7 separate regions of the Homo sapiens genome follow, and all the other regions are linked to region 5. Evidence: promoter capture Hi-C in 16 types of primary human blood cells and fetal thymus (Javierre and others, 2016). All regions are on one chromosome and are shown on one strand. The core of a region is centred on a gene start or on the middle of the fragment in contact, and the rest is flanking DNA. Distances in the headings are between cores, read along the strand shown. Region 1 overlaps SDHAF3 (succinate dehydrogenase complex assembly factor 3). Region 2 has its middle 18 kb from the start of SDHAF3. Region 3 overlaps SDHAF3 (succinate dehydrogenase complex assembly factor 3). Region 4 has its middle 34 kb from the start of SDHAF3. Region 5 holds the start of ASNS (asparagine synthetase (glutamine-hydrolyzing)). Region 6 overlaps SDHAF3 (succinate dehydrogenase complex assembly factor 3). Region 7 overlaps LOC124901704 (a long non-coding RNA gene).

The links. The method cuts DNA at HindIII sites, captures the fragments that hold promoters and counts their contacts. A CHiCAGO score of 5 or more calls a contact.
Region 1: a contact is called between a fragment that was not itself captured here and the fragment with the promoter of ASNS in region 5, in 4 of 17 cell types (M2 macrophages, monocytes, erythroblasts and 1 more). The highest score is 10.2, in M2 macrophages.
Region 2: a contact is called between a fragment that was not itself captured here and the fragment with the promoter of ASNS in region 5, in 1 of 17 cell types (M1 macrophages). The highest score is 5.6, in M1 macrophages.
Region 3: a fragment that was not itself captured here is called in contact with the fragment with the promoter of ASNS in region 5 in 5 of 17 cell types (erythroblasts, total B cells, M0 macrophages and 2 more); the score reaches 9.0 in erythroblasts.
Region 4: a contact is called between a fragment that was not itself captured here and the fragment with the promoter of ASNS in region 5, in 1 of 17 cell types (M2 macrophages). The highest score is 5.4, in M2 macrophages.
Region 6: a contact is called between a fragment that was not itself captured here and the fragment with the promoter of ASNS in region 5, in 3 of 17 cell types (M1 macrophages, M0 macrophages and endothelial precursors). The highest score is 8.4, in M1 macrophages.
Region 7: a contact is called between a fragment that was not itself captured here and the fragment with the promoter of ASNS in region 5, in 2 of 17 cell types (monocytes and M0 macrophages). The highest score is 5.5, in monocytes.

Annotation. Positions count from the first base shown.
Region 1 is chr7:97,168,115-97,170,959 of GRCh38, forward strand. The region is part of intron 1 of SDHAF3 (succinate dehydrogenase complex assembly factor 3); the gene reads left to right. Among named protein-coding and RNA genes, the nearest start is that of SDHAF3, 52 kb to the left of the region's middle. The HindIII fragment of the contact is 2,565 bases long and covers 111-2,675 here.
Region 2 is chr7:97,098,622-97,101,321 of GRCh38, forward strand. No RefSeq gene overlaps it. Among named protein-coding and RNA genes, the nearest start is that of SDHAF3, 18 kb to the right of the region's middle. The HindIII fragment of the contact is 8,667 bases long and covers 1-2,700 here.
Region 3 is chr7:97,125,745-97,128,620 of GRCh38, forward strand. All of the region lies in intron 1 of SDHAF3 (succinate dehydrogenase complex assembly factor 3), which reads left to right. Among named protein-coding and RNA genes, the nearest start is that of SDHAF3, 9.5 kb to the left of the region's middle. The HindIII fragment of the contact is 2,142 bases long and covers 427-2,568 here.
Region 4 is chr7:97,082,488-97,085,329 of GRCh38, forward strand. No RefSeq gene overlaps it. Among named protein-coding and RNA genes, the nearest start is that of SDHAF3, 34 kb to the right of the region's middle. The HindIII fragment of the contact is 2,931 bases long and covers 1-2,842 here.
Region 5 is chr7:97,870,954-97,873,788 of GRCh38, forward strand. It overlaps ASNS (asparagine synthetase (glutamine-hydrolyzing)), which reads right to left and starts at 1,455. Exons shown (of 13, transcript NM_001673.5): 1 at 1,398-1,455. All of the region lies in intron 7 of CZ1P-ASNS (CZ1P-ASNS readthrough), which reads right to left. RefSeq lists silencers at 1,177-1,286, 1,597-1,686 and an enhancer at 1,336-2,051. The HindIII fragment of the contact is 3,580 bases long and covers 1-1,800 here.
Region 6 is chr7:97,150,797-97,153,623 of GRCh38, forward strand. The region is part of intron 1 of SDHAF3 (succinate dehydrogenase complex assembly factor 3); the gene reads left to right. The region is part of intron 2 of LOC107984034 (a long non-coding RNA gene); the gene reads left to right. Among named protein-coding and RNA genes, the nearest start is that of SDHAF3, 35 kb to the left of the region's middle. The HindIII fragment of the contact is 5,764 bases long and covers 1-2,827 here.
Region 7 is chr7:97,187,023-97,189,722 of GRCh38, forward strand. All of the region lies in intron 1 of LOC124901704 (a long non-coding RNA gene), which reads right to left. Among named protein-coding and RNA genes, the nearest start is that of SDHAF3, 71 kb to the left of the region's middle. The HindIII fragment of the contact is 370 bases long and covers 1,146-1,515 here.

The DNA of each region.
Region 1 (2,845 bases), core at 143-2,642, 700 kb before region 5:
GCGGGACCCCCTCTTTTTGCCTAATGAATTCTGCCCTCATCACCCTTCAACGTGTTCACGTGCCTAATTTTTCCTGGTCATGAGACAAGAACTTGGATTTAGCTGAACTAAGCTTAGAGCAAAAAATCCTGCATCAATCTTAAGTTTCACAACAGTGATATTATCCCCAGGAGCAATTTGGGGGAGGGTCAGAATCTTGTAGCCTCCAGCTGCATGAGTCTGAAATCATAATCTTTTGGCTAATTTGTTAGTCCTACAACAGCAGTCTAGTTCCCAGGCAAGAAGGGGGTTTGTTTTGGGAAAGATTGTGTTATATTTGTTTAAAACTGTAAACTAAATTCTCCCAAAGTTAATTCAACCTGTGCCCAGGAATGAATAAGGATACCTTGGACATGAGAAGCAAGATGGAGTTGGTTAGGTCAGATCTCTTTCACTGTCTCAGTTATAATTTTGCAATGATGGTTTCAATCCCTTCCTTTGGGTTTTATAACACCTTAATCTTAAGGTGTGGGCTAATGAAGATGGAAAAAGTGTGACACCTGCTCTAACTTCTTCCTGCTAACCGGGGGTGTAATTGGGATAGGTGTTGACTCCAAGGTGAGAGGTTTCATACACTTGGCTTTTGTGTTTTCTTCATGCCTTTTACATTTTTTATTATGTTACTTAACTAATTTTTGTTCCCTTTTCTTTTAGCCTATAAATAAATATCCTGTTCATTTCTTACATACTTATTCTTATATTCTCCTTTAGTGAGTAAGCTATCTTATTTGTTTGATATTTTAGTTTGATTACAGATATGTAGACTCTGGGTAACGTGAAATGTGATTGTGATAATGCTACACTCTTTCATTTGGTTAATTAGAATAACAAATGCAGAAGATAACTTGTAAGACATTAGAATATATTTAAATTTTCTGTTAAAATTTGCCTTTCAGGGCTGGGTGCGGTGGCTCATGCCTGTAATCCCAGCACTTTGGGAGGCCGACGGATCACTTGAGGTCAGGAGTTCAAGACCAGCCTGGCCAGCGTGTTGAAACCCTGCCTCTACTAAAAATACAAAAGTTAGCTGGGCATGGTGGTGGGCGCCTGTAATCCCAGGTACTTGGGAGGCTGAGGCAGGAGGATCACTTGAATGTAGTGAGCTAAGATCGCGGCGCTGCACTCCAGCCTGGGCAACAAGAGCGAAACTGTCTCAAAAAAAAAGTATTAATATCATGATCGTCTGCTTTGGATCAGTATTACCCCAAATTGAACTGTGTGAAAGTACTGTCAATTTCAATATATATCAAATATAATTTTTAAAATACTTGATTTGATGTAACTCACTTGATGTTATAATAGATTCCTTTGGAGAGTAAGAATTATGCAGATTGCTATACATTTTTTTGGTGACAGCTATAATGTAAATAATTTGTTATAAAACATACTAATTTTATTTTCTCAATAAATTGGTGATTTTCTAAACAGATTACATCAAAATAGAATTTGAATGCATCATGTCCTTTAGTTTATATAATTTTTTTAAATATAGAATTAACCTGCATTACAGATGAACAGGTAGTTAAAAATCTATTGCTAAATGCAGTTTTTCTGTAGAGTGAAAAGAAAAAGCCTGATTATAAAAAATGTAAAAAAAGAAAAAATTATAGTTTTGAACTCTTTATGTTTTTAATGTCTGCGAGTGAAATTTTTTGTTCTATTTTCTTAACTATTACAATTTAGTTGTTTTTGATGACTAATATTGATAGTAAAATAATTGGAAGAATTTTTTCAAAAGCCTTTTTTGAGTTTTGTATATTAGCTTTATAAGCTGTTTTTTGTTCCCCATCAATTTTTAAATCAGTAGTGTATATACATTCTTATCTAATTGGATCATTGTCATCCTTAGGTATTACAGTTAAACTTATTTTCTTGCTACTTTGCTAGAACCCATCCTCACCTCCATTGAGGTATAAGTGAGTAAGGTAAGGAGTTGGCTAGTTCGTTTTTTTTTTTTAACGTAACAGCTTTACTGTGGTGTCATTGATGCATAGTGAACCACACATATTAATGTGTATACTTGGGTGAGTTTTGAAATATGTATACACCCATGAAACTGTCACCACATTCAAGATAACAAAAATCTATTACTCCAGAAAGTTTCCTTGTGCCTCACTGTATTCTAATATTACTAAAGAATAAATTAAAGGTTATATATAAAACATAAAATGTACAAGTAGTCCATTCACCTAAATGATCAGGAAAATGTATTTTTAAAATTAGTTTTATGAATACATTTTTAGATTAAGTAAAATAAGTTATGTAATATTACCTTAAGTACAATGCTATTATTGTTTCTGGGAACTTTGGGATGAATTTCATAAACAAGAATGTGCTTATTTTCTGTGCTGACTTCTCATTTCTGACATTATGACATTTGATTTGTAAGTGTCCAATATCATGGACATAGAGTTTATAGTAGACAAATATAAAGAATATTTGTGAACTAGGTTTTCTATAACATTTCCTTACTACTTCCTTAGCCAAGAACTTTCTACGTTCTTGCTTTTTTTTCTTTTTATCTTTGCTGTGCTGTGTCACAACTAACACCTTTTTTTGCTCATCTCTGGGAGTCACAGGTGAATCTTGAGTTTGGTTTACAGAGGAACCTGGGGAATTTGACTTCACAGAGGCTAAGCTTCATGGCCACCTGAGAAATTGACTTATTAGTGACACTAGTGTTACTTTCTATTCTTTGCACTCTGTATATCAAAGAGTTATATATTACAAGTGTTTGTGGGCTAAGAAATAGCATGTATAAGCTATCAATCATCTTTGACTTGAAAATCATAAAACCTCGTCAGAA
Region 2 (2,700 bases), core at 100-2,599, 770 kb before region 5:
CTGACCTCAGGTGATTCTTCCGTCTCTGCCTCCCAAAGTGCTGGGATTACAGGCATGAGCCACTGAGCCCAGCCTAACAGATGCTTTTTAAGTACCTACCAACATTCTCATTTTAAGAGGGGAAACTGAAGTCCAGAGAGGTTAAACAACTAGCCCAAGGCATAGACTTCAAAAGTGGCAGAGCTGGAATCTAGCTGAATATGACTTACTCACCTTAAATTTGTAATAATGAAGGATAGATACTGTATTCTTATATCAGACAAAACAGACTTCAAAGCAACAACAGTTTAAAAAGACAAAGAGGAACATTATGTAATGATAAAAGGATTAGTCCAACAGGAAAATATCACAATCCTAAATATATATGCACCTAACATGGGAGCTCCCAAATTTATAATACAAGTATTACTAGACATAAGAAATGAAATAGATGGCAACAAAATAATAGTGGGGAATTTCAATACTGTACTGACAACACTAGACAGGTCATCAAGACAGAAAGTCAACAAAGAAACAATGAACTTAAATTATACCCTAGAACAAATGGACTTAACAGATATTTACAGAACATTCTACCCAAGAACTGCAGAATATACATTCTTTTCATCAGCATATGGAACATTCTCCAAAACAGATCATATCATGGGCCACAAAACAAGTCTCAATAAATTTAAGAAAATTGAAATTATATAAAATAGCTTCTCAGATCACAGTGAAATAAAATTGGAAATTAATTCCAAAAGAAATCCTTAAAACGGCCGGGCGCGGTGGCTCACGCCTGTAATCCCAGCACTTTGGGAGGCCGAGGTGGGTGGATCATGAGGTCAGGAGATCGAGACCATCCTGGCTAACAAGGTGAAACCCTGTCTCTACTAAAAATACAAAAAATTAGCCGGGCGCGGTGGCGGGCGCCTGTAGTCCCAGCTACTCGGGAGGCTGAGGCAGGAGAATGGCGTGAACCCGGGAAGCGGAGCTTGCAGTGAGCCGAGATTGCGCCACTGCAGTCCGCAGTCCGGCCTGGGCGACAGAGCGAGACTCCGTCTCAAAAAAAAAAAAAAAAAAGAAATCCTTAAAACTATACAAATGCATGGAAATTAAATAATCTCTCCTCAATGATCTTTGGATCAATAATGAAATCAAGATGGAAATTTAAAAATTCTTTGAACTGAATGATAATAGTTACACAACTTACCAAAACCTCTGGGACACAGCAAAAAAAAGTGCGAAGAGGAAATTTCACAGCATTAAATCCTTACATCAAAAAGTCTGCAAGAGCACAAAATGACAACCTAAGGTCACACCTCAAGGAACTAGAGAAACAAGAACCCAAACCCGGCAGAAGAAAAGAAATAACAAAGATCAGAACAGAACTAAATGAAATTGAAACAAAAAAAAATACAAAAGATAAATGAAACAAAAAGCTGGTTCTTTGAAAAGATAAATAAAATTGATAGGCCAGTAGCAACAGTAATCAAGAAAAGAAGACAGAAGATCCAAATAAGCTCAATTAGAAATGAAATGTGAAATACTACAGCTGATACCACAGAAATACAAAAGATCATTCAAGGCTACTATGAACACCTTTATGCACACAAACTAGAAAACCTAAAGGAGATGGATAAATTCCTGGGAATATACAACCCTCCTAGATTAAATCCGGGAGAAATAGAAACTCTGAATAGACCAGTAACAAGTAGTGATATTGAAACAGTAATAAAAAAATTACCAATCAAAAAAAGTCCAGGACCAGATGGATTCACAGCTGAATTCTTTTTTTTTTTTTTTTTTTCCCCGAGACGGAGTCTCGCACCGTCACCCAGGCTGGAGTGCAATGGCACAATCTCGGCTCACTGCAACTTCTGCCTCCCAGGTTCATGTGATTCTCCTGCCTCAGCCTCCCGAGTAGCTGGGATTACAGGTGTACACCACCACACCCAGCTAATTTTTTGTATTTTTAGTAGAGATGGGGTTTCACTATGTTGGCCAGACTGATCTAGAACTCCTGACCTCGTGATCCACCTGCCTTGGCCTCCCAAAGTGCCGGGATTACAGGCATGAGCAACCACACCCGGCCTCACAGCTGAATTCTATCAGGCATTCAGAGAAGAATTGGTACCTATCTTACTGAAACTATTTCACAAGATAGAGAAAGAGGAATTCCTCCCTAAATCATTCTATGAAGTCAGTATCCCCCTAATACCAAAGCCAGAAAATGACATAAGAAAAAAGAAAACTACAGACCAATATCCCTGATGAACACAGATGCAAAAATCCTCAACAAAAATACTAGCTAATCAAATCCAACAGCATATCAAAAAGATAATACACCATGATCAAGTGGGTTTCATAACAGGGATGCAGCGATGGTTTAACATACACAAGTCAATAAATGTGATACACTACACAAACAATTAAAAACAAAAATCACATGTCCATCTCAATAGATGCAGAAAAAGCATTTGACAAAATTCAGCATGCCTTTATGATGAAAACCCTCAGCAAAATTGGCATAGAAGAGACATACCTCAAGGTAATAAAAGCCATCTATGACAAACCCACAGCCAACATTATACTAAATGGGGAAAAGTTGAAAGCATTCCCCCTGAGAACTGGAACAAGACAAGGATGCCCACCTTTACCACTGCTATTCAACATAGTACTGGAAGTCCTAGTCAGAGCAATAAGACAAGAGAAAGAAAC
Region 3 (2,876 bases), core at 248-2,747, 750 kb before region 5:
AGAGTTCTTAGCTTCCTTGCATTGGGTTAGAACATGCCTCCGTAGCTCAGAGGAGTTTGTTATTACCTACCTTCTGAAGCCTACTTCTGTCAATTCATCAAACTCATTCTCCATCCAGTTTTGTGTCCTTGCTGGAGAGGAGTTGCAATCATTTGGAGGAGAAGAAGCATTCTGGTTTTTGGAATTTGCAGCATTTTTGTGCTGGTGTTTCCTCATCTTCATGGATTTACTTTGGATGGGGTTTTGTGTGAGGGTCTTTTTTGTTGCTGTTCATGTTGCTGCTTTCTGTTTGTTTTTCTTCTAATAGGCCCCTCTTCTGCAGATCTGCTGCAGTTTGCTGGAGGTCTACTCCAGACCCTATTTGCCTGGGTATTACCAGCAGAGGCTGCAGAACAGCAAAGATTGCTGCCTGCTCTTTCCTCTGGAAGCTTCGTCCCAGAGGGGCACCAGCCTGATGCCAGCCAGAGCTCTCCTGTATGAGGTGTCTGTCAACCCCTGTTGGGAGGTCTCTTCCAGTCAGGAGGCATGGGGGTCAAAGACCCAGTTGAGGAAGCAGTCTGTCCCTTAGTGGAGCTCAAGCACCGTCCTGCGAAAGCCCTCCTTGTCAGCATCCGCTGCTCTCTTCAGAGCCGTCAGGCAGGAACATTTAAGTCTGCTGAAGTTGTGCCCACAGCTGCCCCTTCCCCCAGGTGCTGTGGCCCAGGGAGATGGGAGTTTTATCTGTAAGCCCCTGATTGGGGCTGCTGCCTTTGTTTCAGAGATGCCCTGCCCAGTGAGGAGGAATCTAGAGAGGCAGTCTGGCCACAGCTGCTTTGCTGCGTTACGTTGAGTTCCTCCCAGTCCTTAGTACTGTCAGAGGAAAACAGCCTACTCAAGCCTCAGTAATGGCAGATGCCCCTCCCCCCACCAAGCTGTGTCATCCCTGGTCGACTTCAGACTTGTGCTGGCAGCGAGAAATTCAAGCCAGTGGTTCTTAGCTTGCTGGCCTTCATGGGAGTGGGACCTGCTGAGCGAGACCACTTGGTTCCCTGGCTTCAGCTCCCTTTCCAGGCAAGTGAACGGTTCTGTCTTGCCTGGGTTCCAGGCACCACTGGAGTACCGAAAAAAAAAAAAAAAAACCCTGCAGCTAGCTCGGTGTCTGCCCGAATAGCTGCCCAGCTTTGAGCTTGAAACCCAGGGCCTTGGTGGTGTAGACACACGAGGGAATCTCCTGGTCTTCGGATTACAAAAATCATGGGAAAAGCATAGTATCTGGGCCGGATAGCACAGTCCCTCATGGCTTCCCTTGGCTGGGAAAGGGAGCCCCTCACCTCCCCGCAACTCCTTGCGCTTCCTGGGTGAGGCAACACCCCATGCTGCTTCTGCTCGCCCTCCATGGGCTGCACCCACTGCCTAACCAGTCCCAGTGAGATGAACAGGGTACCTTAGTTGGAAATGGAGAAATCACCTGCCTTATGTATTGGTCTTGCTTGGAGCTGCCAACCAGAGCTGTTCCTATTTGGCTATCTTGCCAGATCCAAGAGAATCCATTTTCTTTTTCTTCTCTTCAAGTAAAGGCAATGATCCCGGTATCACGGACTGACTGTAACTGCTCTTCTTGATTATGTTCAATTCTTTATACTTGTGTGATAATTTAGTTATTATAACATTTTCTTTCCCATTTTATTTTGTTGCATTTGTTCGAGAGGAGGAAATGCTTCAGACTTCAGGTAGCCATTCCTTTGTAACTCTCATGGGATGTCTTTTTCTTATATATGATTTTGAAGTGGATCATCATTTGTATGTATGTATCATATATACACATGTATTATTAAGTGGCATGTCACCTATATTTAGAGTTTCCTTAGTATAATTAGGATTGGATGGGTATTTGGCTAGTTTTTATAAATGTATGCTTCTCTTACCTAATTTGTGGACCTCATTTTGTTACTCTTGAACATCTTGATTTATAGTTTTAGCTTGCAGGAGAAAAGGAATGAATTGCTTCTCTGTTTAGTGAATGGATTGTATGTGTCAGGGATACATTTCCCAAGTATGAGTGGGTCAGTTGGGTCTCAGTCAAATTGTTAATTCTGCATTTTACTCATTGTCGGTGTTTTTGTGATGGTTTATTGAATGGTGATTTGTCACACATATATGTTTTCTACATCAAGTTTTTTTTTTTTTTTTTTTTTTTGACTGAGTCTCCCTCTGTCGCTGAGGCTGGAGTGCAGTGGCACTGCGTCGGCTCACTGCAACCTCCTTCTCCTGGGTTCAAGCAGTTCTCCTGCCTCAGCCTCCCAAGTAGCTGGGATTACAGGCGTCCACCACATCTGGCTAGTTTTTATATTTTTAGTAGAGATGGGGTTTCACCATGTTGGCCAGGCTGGTCTCAAACTCCTGACACCAAGTGATCCACTTGCCTCGGCCTCCCAAAGTCAAGTTTTAACTTTTAAAACATTTTAACCATACTGTGGTCCTTAACTAATGGTTTAAAAAGGGGTACAAGAGAAGATACAAAACAGTTTATCCTTGCAACATAGAATGTTTTCTACTTTTTCATGTCTGAAACACTTGCATTATTAGTGAAGCTTTTAAGATATTACTACTTAGGAATATTTAATTTTTATTGGTGTTATAAAATGTGTTATAACAATGCTCATGATAAAGTAACAAAGTAAAAATTATAGTTTGATCAATATTGCATATATTATTGACTTTATGGTATGTTACTGGAAGACAGGTGTATGTTTCTTTTATTTAAATGATTCAAAATTTTCAGATTTAAAATAATGGTAATAGCATGATAATGTTAATATGCTAGTGGTCATAGTTCTGAAACATTGTGTGTGTAGAGGTATGTGTATAGGTAATGTGCAATCTTAAAATTTGAAGTT
Region 4 (2,842 bases), core at 164-2,663, 790 kb before region 5:
TCTGAACACTATAAGCTGAAAGTATATCTCTTAAAAGAGATACTTTTCCATTTTTTGTGCAAATGTTTTTATTGTTCTACTTCAATCCAGACACATTTTACTCAGAGGAAAAGATAATAATGGCTGATGTGTCAAGGTAAGTTTTGTTTGGACATGCATTAAAGATACAACTTAATGTTTTCATAAAATACTGTATACAATAGATCTCAAACAATGCTTGCTTTTAACAGATGCCTGGTTCTAAAAGGGAGCATTAGTTTTTATATGTAGGAAGTTAAGCACTTGATAATTGATCACCTTCAAGTACATTCTGTCTTTTACAAATGGTCATTTTGTGATAAGCTGTTCCACAATTCCCTTTAGCTCAGGAGAATTTATACCCAATTGAAGGTGTGGAAATACACTGAACCCCATACGCTATGATGTCTAAAGTTAGAAGACTGTGTAGTTTTCCTGAGTCTGTTTCAGGAATTTGTATTGGGCAGTGATGTTTGTTGCTCCCAGCTCAACTAGGGATGACTCCATCCACCAGCATAATGGGTTGGGCATATGACCAAAACCTTGAAAATGAAGGTACTACTCTATCCTTTACCTATGATGACTGGTCAAGAGTGTGTGTGTGTTTTCGTATCCAATCTAGTGATCATCAGTTTGGGAAAGAGAATTTATTTTTGCCAGCATTACTATGCTGGTAGGATGTAAGCCCAGCACTAATGTTGCAATATCCTATTAATTTTTTAAAGGTATATACGTATATACAAAGACAGTCTACTAAAGAGGTATTAAAAAATGATTAGTAAATGTTTAGTCTTACTAGTAATCAAAGAAATGCAAATTAAAACAATAAGGTACGATTTACTTTTTGAATTGGGAAATGATTAATTAATTGATAATTAAGTGACAAATTTGTGTTGGAAAGGATGCTGTATGCTATGGTTTGAATGTGTCCCCCAAAAGTTCATGTGTTGGAAAATTAGTTGCCATTGTGGTAGTGTTGAGAGGAGGGCCTTTGGGAGTCAATGAGGTCATGAAGGCTACTCCCTTATGAATGGATTACTTTTCTTATTGTGAGAGTGATTTAGTTATTGTGGGAGTGGCTTTGTTAGAAAAGCAATTGTCTCTCACACTTACTTTCTTGCCCTCTGTCTTCTGCTCTTCCACCTGTGATGACCCTCACCAGATGCCAGGTGTCATACTCTTGGACTTCCCAGCCTCCAGAACCATGAGCCTAGTAAACTTTTCTTTATAAATTACCCAGTCCTTGATATTCTGTCATAGCACCAGAAAATGGACCAAGACACTGTGAAATGCTCAAGTTTGTGGACTAGAAATTTCTGTAACATTTTTTAAGAGCAATTTGAAAATATCAATTTTTTTAAATCAATATCATATTATTTGTCCTAAGGGGAATATATCCTAAGGAAGTAATTCTAAATGTGGGAGTTTGAAGCACAAAACCAGAAACAACTAATATCCAGAAGTAAGAAAATAATAAGCTAATTATAGTAGATACATTGGGAGAAACATTTAAGTATTAAGTGAAGAATGCAGGATACAAAATTGTAAGCACATGGCTCCTTAATGATATATAGCGTACAAGTGATTTGTTCCATAATTTGCATAGTATTTTTCTTTACAAATATATTAAGTGAAATCATGATTGTGCATGTTTAATATATTTTTCCCATGCTCTAAATATTAATGTACTCTCTCAGCCAATGACACCTAGTGGGCTGTATTATTAGGCCAAGGAGGACTAGGGCTCTGCTATCCCAAATTGAGAGTACTGTGTAGTAGATACTGTTTATTCTTTTTATTTTATGTTTTATTTTTTGAGACAGAGTCTCACTCTGTTGCCCAGGCTGGAGTGCAGTGGCACAATCTCAGCTCAGTGCAACCTCTGCCTTTTGGGTTCAAGGTATTCTCCTGACTCAGCCTCCTGAGGAGCTGGGATTACAGGTGCATGCCACCACACCTGGCTAGTTTTTTATATTTCTGGTAGAGACAGGGTTTCACCATATTGGCCAGGCTGGTCTTGAACTCCTGACCTCAAGCAATCCACCCATCTCAGCTCCCCAAAATGTTGGGATTACAGAGGTGAGCCACTGTGCCCGGCAATACTGTTTATTCTTTTAGGGGCTCTCTTTCTCCCATTTAGCTTGTATTTAGTGAATAGTTTTTATTCAAAATGACTGACAAAAATGGTGCAAGTGATAGTGGAACAATTGTTTCCAAGAATCTGATACTAAAACTCAGGTTTTCTGGAAAACTGAGGAGTCTTCAGAGAAACGGTGAGGTGACAAATTAAAAAAAAGAGTAGGAGATTAGGAATTATTGGAAATCCTTAAACTTTTTGCAATTATATAAACATAATTGCAAGTAAATAAACGTTTTAAAGGCAGAATTCCTCTTACTCTTTGTGGAGCTGACTACATAATTTGTAAAGCCTAGTGCAAAATAAAAATGGGGAGCCCTTGTCAAAAATCAGGGAGGAAAGCACCGTATTAGTCCATTTTCACACTGCTATAAAGACATACCCGAGACCAAGTAGTTTATAAAGGAAAAAGGTTTAATTGACTCACAGTCACACATGGCTGGGGAGGCCTAAGGAAACTTACAATCATGGTGGAAGGCGAAGGAGAAGCCAGGCACATCTTACCATGGTGAAGTAGGAGAGAAAGAGAGTGAGGGGGGACCTGACAAACACTTTTAAAGCATCTAATTTCATGAGTATTCACTTAGCATCATGAGAACACCATGGAGGAAACCGCCCCCATGATCCAATCAATCCCACTAGTCCCTCCCTCAAGACATGGGAATTACAATTCAAGACGAGATTTGG
Region 5 (2,835 bases), core at 205-2,704:
TCAGTCTTATAGGAGGGCAAAGTTCCTACTGCCGCTACCTGTTCTCAATATTTTTCTTATTTCTTCCTAAACTTCTAGAACAGTGCTGTCCAATAAATATATATGTAAGCCACATATGTAATTTTAAATATACTAGTAGCCCCATTAAAAGAAAAAGGTGAAATTAATTTTAAATAAACTTAACTCAGTATGTCCCAAATAGTAACATTTTAACATATATGTAATCAATATAAAATATTATCGAGCAGATATTTTACACTGTTCTTCCTACTCCAACGACAAAATCCAGTGTATTTAACACAATACATCTCAGTTAGGACTAGCCAGCACTTCAAGTGCTCAACAGTTACAGGTGGCTAGCGCCTACCGAACTGGACATGGCAGTTTCAGTGCATTTAATTTCTATTCCACTTAGTGCTACTTACAACTTCACCCTCTCCCTTTACTTTTATATTAAGATCTCAGTAAGTAACCAACTACAGACAGGTTCAAGCCCTACTTTACCTCTAATTACTCTTACAGCAATGCTATGAATCATGATTTAAAATTTAAAAAAAAAAACTGCTGTTAAATTATTAGTCAAGCGCCCAGGGCAATGGACAGTAAAGAAATAATGTAGGCCACGGGCCGAGATGAAAACTGTCCTTTTTATTTAAAGCTATAACAATCATCTGAAGCCAGCCCTGCAAAATGACAGCCATTGAAAAAGGCATGCTAGTTCTTTTGCCTTTTTCTGTACTTGGTCGCCTGTGTCCCTAAACAGACCTCTTCTCGGCAGGGTTTGCTCAGCAAGTCACTTGATGAGTCTTGCAGTCTACAGAGACAGGTGGGGACTGGTGGGGATGGCGGGGTGAGAGGGGAGGAGGAGGGTGAGCGGTCCAGGTGAGGAGGGGGGCAGTTGAAGGTGAAAGCAGACACCGAGACGGTGATAAGGCCGCAGTCTCTTCCTAGATCAGGACCACGCGACACCTGACTGCGCCCTGGCCACGAGCACGATCCGACCCGTCCGCCGCAGGGACCCGGACCGCGAAAATGTCCACAGGCTTCGACGCCACATAGTAAAAAAAAGTACACATATAACATTTACAGGGGCTCAAACTGCCGCTGCCTCCTCTCCGGAGCGGTCCGGCCTGCCGGCCGCGGTTCCCTCTCGATGCTTCAGGGAACCAGGACAGAAAGGTCCTTCCGCTAGCTGTCAGGTGCGTAACAATCGCTAGGCGTCCGCCCCGCCCTCCCTACCGCAGGAGCCGCAGCATCAGCAGGCGCCCGCGAACCGCGTCTGCCGGGTGCCAGGCTGAAGACCGCATCCTCCACCCCTTCCTTCCGGAGCAGCCCCAGGGCACGCGAGGAGGATGCTGGCGCGGGGCGCAGGGCACGGGGCGCAGGACCCGGCTCACCTGGGCGTAAGCAGGTCAGGGTGATGTGGCGGGCTGAGGCCAGGGATGTGGACAGCTTGACGGGCGGCGAGGCCGCTGGCGCTTATACCGACCTGGCTCCTGTAACGCGTGCGGGAAGTTTCATCATGCCTGCGAGGACCAACCAGCGCGCACAGGGGCGGGGCCGCGGGGTGTCCGGGGCGGAGCAGGACTAAGTGGGGCGGCGGAAGGGCGCAAGGAGGAGCTCTTTTGTTTCCAGCGCCTTGCGTCTCAGTGCGCCTGTTTAAGGATAGCCTCAGAGCTCCGCCCAGGCTACCTGCTGTTCTGACAATTAGGGAGGCTTCTGAACTTGGTTTGTTCTTCGGGAAATCATCACCGTTTTTTTGTTGCACTGCCGTCTGATTTATTATGCAGTGCAGAGAAAAGCTTGTCCTAAGAAACTGATGCGTGAGGCCTAAAATGTCCTTATAAGATCTATTAATAAATCGGGGCCAGGAGCGGTGGCTCACGCCTGTAATCCCAACACTTTGGGAAGCCAAGGCAAGAGGATCACTTGAAACCAGGAGTTCAAGACCAGCCTGGGAAACACAGCGAGATCACATCTCTATAAAAATTGGTGGCACACCATGGTAGTCCCAGCAACTCAGGAGGCTGAGGCAGAAGGATAGTTTGAGCCCAGGCGTTTGAGGCTGAGGTGAGCTCAACTCCAGCCTGGGCGACAAAGGGAGACCCCCATCTCTAAAACAATAAAATCTAAATCTAATTGATACATGAAGCCAAAATACATCAGTGGTCCTTAAACATTTTAAGTACAAAGATTCCTTTTAGAATCTCAAAAAGGATTTTGTCAACTTGCCTCCACAAGATGATTATGTGCTTTTAAGTATCTCTTTGATGAAGAAAAGACATCACGATTTTTAAAAAGTATCATAACACTCTTAAATCGTATTTTACTAATTACATCAGCACCGAAATAAATTGAGAAATAGTAAAATTATATGTGCACGACCTACTAAGATCAGACTACAGTCAATGCTTGGAGAGCATGCAGGTTTGATATCCCCATACAACGCATTCCTGACTAAATCAAAAACGTCAACAATTTAAAATCCCTAAGAACAGAAGATGGAGTAGTCGCTTAGTAGTTACAGGCAAGAGCAAAGATGAGAGATGACTTGTTCTAAGGTTCATTGTTGCTGGAAAGTTTTCAGTATCAAACAGACTTTGCTGTATCCTAATTGACGTACTTTAAACCTGAGAGCAATGTGGGAAAGTAGGTCTTCTATCTACATTTTACAAATGAAAAAATAAGACTCAGAAAAGTTGAGGGATTTATCCAAACACAGCTTCACAACAGTAGAGAACTGAGTCATAATCTGTGTAAACCCAGAGCCCATTTCCCGTAGCATCTTGCCTATGTAGTGAAAGACAGGTTCCCCTGCTTGGTGTGTTACCTAGT
Region 6 (2,827 bases), core at 201-2,700, 720 kb before region 5:
TGTGATCCTTCCGCCATGGCCTCCCAAAGTGCTGGGATTACAGGTGTGAGCCACCGCACCCGGCCTAGGAATCTTTTTCTGATCAGTAGTCTGAATAGCGGGGTTAAAATACTCAGTAGCTGGGACTACAGGCCTGCACCACTGCGCCTGGCTGTCAGTTGTTTGTTAGTGTGTTTTAAGACTTAATATATTAAGATTAGTTTTAGGTTCTTGGCAAAATTAAGAGGAAAGCACAGAGATTTTCCATATACCTTCTGCCCCAACATATGCATAACCTCTCCCATTATCAGCATCCCCCACTGGAGTAGTACATTTGTTACAATAGATGAACAAACTGTAGGGGTGACGGGAACTTTTACTGCACACTCCGAAGTTTCTGTAGTTGAATCTGTGATAAACTGAAAGCAGACAGATTAATAGGAGAAAGGCATACGGATTTATTATGTGCATATACACGAGAGTCTCACAAAATAAAAGACTCAGAAAGGCCAGATGATTGGAATTTTTATAATATCTGTAGCTGCAGAAAGAAATAGGGGCTTGGGGCTTCTAGGGAGTGGAGGTGAGGACAGACAGGCTTTGGGAGGGTGAGGGGAAGAAATCTAGGGAACAAAGGTTGTCTTGCTACATAGATTAAAATATCTCGGGGAGCAGCCCTCCAAAGAATGGGTAAAGCTGCTCTGGGTGAGGTTGCTAACCTTTAGTCCTTTTTTTTTTTTTGAGTTGGAGTCTCCCTCTGTCCCCCAGGCTGGAGTGCAGTGGCACAATCTCCGCTCACTGCAAGCTCTGCCCCCCGGGTTCCTGCCATTCTCCTGCCTCAGCCTCCCGAGTAGCTGGGACTACAGGCGCTTGCCACCATGCCTGGCTAATTTTTTTGTATTTTTAGTAGAGACGGGGTTTCACAGTGTTCACCAGGATGGTCCCAATCTTCTGACCTCGTGATCTGCCTGCCTCGGCCTCCCAAAGTGCTGGGATTACAGGCATGAGCCACCACGCTCGGCCAACCTTTAGTCTCTTTTTCCTGTGGTACGGTCTTTCCAGATCCATCTTTAGGCAGATTAGGGGTCCTCAGAGAAAACTTCAGCTTGCATCCACTGGTTCCCTGCTGTTCCCCAGTCATGATACCAAAGAGCCTTACTTTGGGGTATCATTTTCTGAGCCCCAATACTACATTGACACATTAAGATCACCCAGAGTTCATCATTTACATGTAGGGTTTACTCTTGTTTTCTTACTTTCTGTGAGTTTAGACAAATGTATAACGACATGTATCCATCTTTATAGTAGTATATAGTATATTTTCACTGCCCTAAAAATTCTCTCTGCCCTGCCGGTTCATCCCCCTCACCAACCTCTGATAACCCACAACTGTAACCCCCAATGGGTTCTACTTGCCTTCTGCCAGATGAAGCCAATTTATCAAGATGGGAATTGCAATAGAGAAACTGTTTCATACACATAGAGCCAACTAAATTGGAGACTGGAGTTTTGGTATTACTCATATCAGCCTCCCTGAAAATTTGGAAGCTAGGGTTTTTGAAAGATAGTTTGGCAGGCATGGACTAGGGAATGGGAAATGCTGATTGGTTAAGTTAGGGATGAAATAATAGGGAGTTGAATCTGTCCTCTTGCATGGAGTCAGTTCCTGGGTGGGAGGTCACAAGACCAGATATCCCAGTTTATGGGTCTGGGTAACACCAGTGGATCCATTAGAATGCAGGGTCTGAAAAATATGTCAAACATCAGTCTTAGGTTTTACAGTAGTAATGTTATCCATAGGAGCAATTGAGGAGGTTAGGAAGTTTATGGCCTCTGACTGCGTGACTTCTGAGCCATTATTTTGTTTATTTATTTATTTATTTATTTATTTTGAGATGGAGTCTCGCTCTTTCGCCCAGGCTGGATTGCAATGGCGCAATCTCAGGTCACTGCAACCCCTGCCTCCCAGGTTCAAGCGATCCTTGTGCCTCAGCCTCCTGAGTAGCTGGGACTACAGATGTGTGCCACCATGCCCAGCAAATTTTTGTAGGCGTGGTGGTTTAGTAGAGACAGGGTTTTGCCATCTTGGCCAGTCTTGAACTCCTGACCTCAAGCAATGGTCTCCCGCCATGCCCGCCATGGCCTCCCAAAGTGCTGGGATTACAGGCATGAACCACTGCATCTGGCCCTGAGCCATTATTTCTTATTTTGTGGCAAATTTGTTAGTTTTACAAAGGTGATCTAGTCTCCAAGCAAGGAGGATGTTTGTTTTGGGGAGGGCCTGTCACTGTCTTTGTTTCAAAATTAAAGTGTAAATTCCTCACAAAGTTAGCTAGACCTACACCTAGGAATGAACAAGGGCAGTTGGGAGGTTAAAGTCACGATGCAGTTGATTAGGTCATATCTCTTTTGCTGTCATAATTTTCTCACTTGTAATTTTTGCAAAGGTGGTTTCTCCACTGATCTGTGTACTCTCACCCTAGTTTTGCCTTTTCTGGCGTGTTACATGTTGGAATCATACAGAATGTAGCCTTTTCAAATTGGCTTCTTGGCTGCTTTTATTTGGTAATATGCGTTTAAGTTTCCTATGTGTCTTTTCATGGCTTGATCATTTCTTTTTAGCTCTGATAAATATTTCATTGTCTGGGTGTACTGCAGTTTGTTCATTTACCTACTGAAGGATATCCTGGTTGCTTCCAAGTTTTGTCAATTATGAATGAAGCTGCAGTAAACATCCGTTTGCAGGGTTTTGAGTGTACATAATTTTTCAACTTCTTTGGATAAATACCAAGGAATGCAATTGCTGGATCATATGGTAAGAGTATGTTTAGTTTTGTTAGAAATTGTA
Region 7 (2,700 bases), core at 81-2,580, 680 kb before region 5:
CTCTACCACTCCTTGTACCCATGCCCTTTGCAAGGTAACTTTGCAGTGCCTATTAATCTGTTTTTCAGTTATTCAAATCTGCAGGCCTTGTGACTTGATTTGCTCAAAAGAATGAGGGAGTAATATTATGCAAACTTAGGTTCTGGGCCCTCAGAGCCTTGCATACTTCTGCCGGCACTATTGGACATCTGTCCAACTGCCATGTGAGCAAACTAGGGCTGGCCTACCAGAGGATCAGATCATGTGGAGCAAAGGTGAGTCATCCTAGACCAGCCAGCTCTCAGCCAACCACATTTATATGAGTGAGCTTAGCCATGACAGCTAATCCCAGTCCAAATTGCCAATTACAAGCTAAATTAATGGCAGTTCTTTTAAATCAGTACATTCTGGGGCAGCTTATTATATAGTTAGGGCTGATACACTGTACTGCCTTACTGTCTCAAAATCACTCATTCCCCCTTTTCTGACTATTAGTCTGATACTTTAGACTTACAATTTTTTTCTGTAGCAATCTATATATGGCTTTCTTGTCTCCAGCCTGTTTTTTTAGTATGTTACTTGCAGCCAGTCACCTTAGTGATATGCAAATCCTATTTCCCTGCTTAACATTTGGAGTGGAGGAGGGTGTTTGGATTGTACTTAATGGTAGTGATACATGGCACAATTGGCTTCTTACCATTGTACTTGGTGGTTGAGAGGAATCTGATACAGCTTATTGAAAATAAATTGGAAATATATATTAAGAACTTTAAGAACATTGGTACTTTTTGAACCCGTAAATTTTATTTCTAAGATTCTATCCTAAAGAAAAGATATTCAGGAATGTGCAGTTTTTCACATAATCATGTTATTAAAAATGATATTTGAGTGAATTTGGAACAGCAGAACTCCCCCAAATACTTAAAAGGTTAAGTGAGTTGTGATGACATGTATAACGAAGTAGTTTAAATGTAGGTTTATGAAGAATTTTTAATGACATGGAACATTTCCTGACATTGATAGGTGAGAAAATGATGCTATGAAATATATGGGATTTTAAATAAAATTTTAGATTTTCTTTTCAGTAATGTGGCAAACAATGCTAATCTGAGCAGTTCTGCTGAAAATGAAAACTTTTAGGTAGAGTAGAAAAAGTATTTTTTAGAAGCTTCTAGGAGCTGGCAATACCCTAAGAGATTAATTATAAGGCCAATATTGCTAAGTGAAACTGGCAAAGCCTCTTTTACCCTAAGATGAATTTCTACTTTGGTTTTGATGGTCCTTTGGGACACAGTGGGCAGAAGACAAAGCACAGAACCCACGTAAGTTGGAGAGTCATAAACGGTTTTTCCAGAAAGACAGGACCCTAAAGACTATATATACCCTCAGGGTTAGAGTGAGCCAGAAGAAAACTTGCTCCAGTACTTGTACAGAATTGCAGGCTATCCTGGATTCAAGTCATCTGTGTACTAAAACAAAACTTAAGCTATAAATTTAATATATGGCCCCAGAATGAGTACCTGACAAATGTAAACAAGCTTTTGAGGATACTCGGGTCACAGATAATTTCCAGAAAAGTGAATCCTCAAGTTTCAGTAAACAAGCAGACTCCACATGGAAAGCTAGCACCATGACTAAGAGGCAGCAGAGACAGACCACCAGAAAACTCAGATATTGGAATTAACACATGTATAATATAAAACGTGTTCACATGTTTAAACTTAAAAGTTATTTGGAAATATCTGCAAGAAACAAGGCATTATAAAAAGTAGGCTGGCATATTTGAAAAAGAACCAAATGGAACTTCTTATAGAAGTAGAAAATAGAATAACTAAAATTAAAAAATTAACCCTAATGGATAAGTTCAAAAGACAAGATGGACTTGAAATAATGAGAATTAGTGACTGCAATACAGAACCAAAAGAAAGTATCCAGAATTCCGCATGAAAAACAAACTTGAGAATATGAGAGGTGGTTAAAACACAAGAGTGTCATGTATATCTAATAGTTTCAGATAGATACCGAGGCAGAACCAATATTTGAAGCTATATTTCCTGAGACTTTTTCAAATCAATGAAACACATAGTCTATGGATTTATCCTAAGCAGGATAGATATAAAATCCTCATTCTTAGACATACCGTATTGAAGCAGCAGAATGCCAATAACTTGTAAAAGCAGCCGAAACAAAAGTCACAAGGGAACCTCAGCTAGTACAGGACAAGTCCCTGGATGGCTTTGGTGACCCAGCTATTCTCCACTTTCTCACTTGTAGTTCTTGTAGAAATGTGCCAGGAATACAACATCCTAATAAAGAATTGTCCAGAACAGCCCAGGCTCTGTTCCTGTCCCTCCTGGAACAGGGTGTCCTTCACCACTTTAACCCAGCGGCCCATGTCACCTCCTAGGGGGTACGGCTTTCAAAATCCAGGGGCTCTCCGTGACAGTGCAAGTAGAGTATGCACAGATGAGTCCCAATCTGCCCTAGGCAGCTTTCCTCAGCCTTTGGAGACTTGCTTGTCATGAATCCTGGGCTACTGTTTTTCCTTACTGCCTACCTACAATTAATAAGACGACTTCATGAAACATGTGTGTGAATGTCCTGTCTCACCAGACTCTTGGAAGTAGTAGAGACTGCAGTGCAAGATGCAGTGGGCTAAAGTGGTAAGCAGTGCACAGTGAATCTTCCTCACAACTAATCTTAAGCTGACTTCTCAAGAAC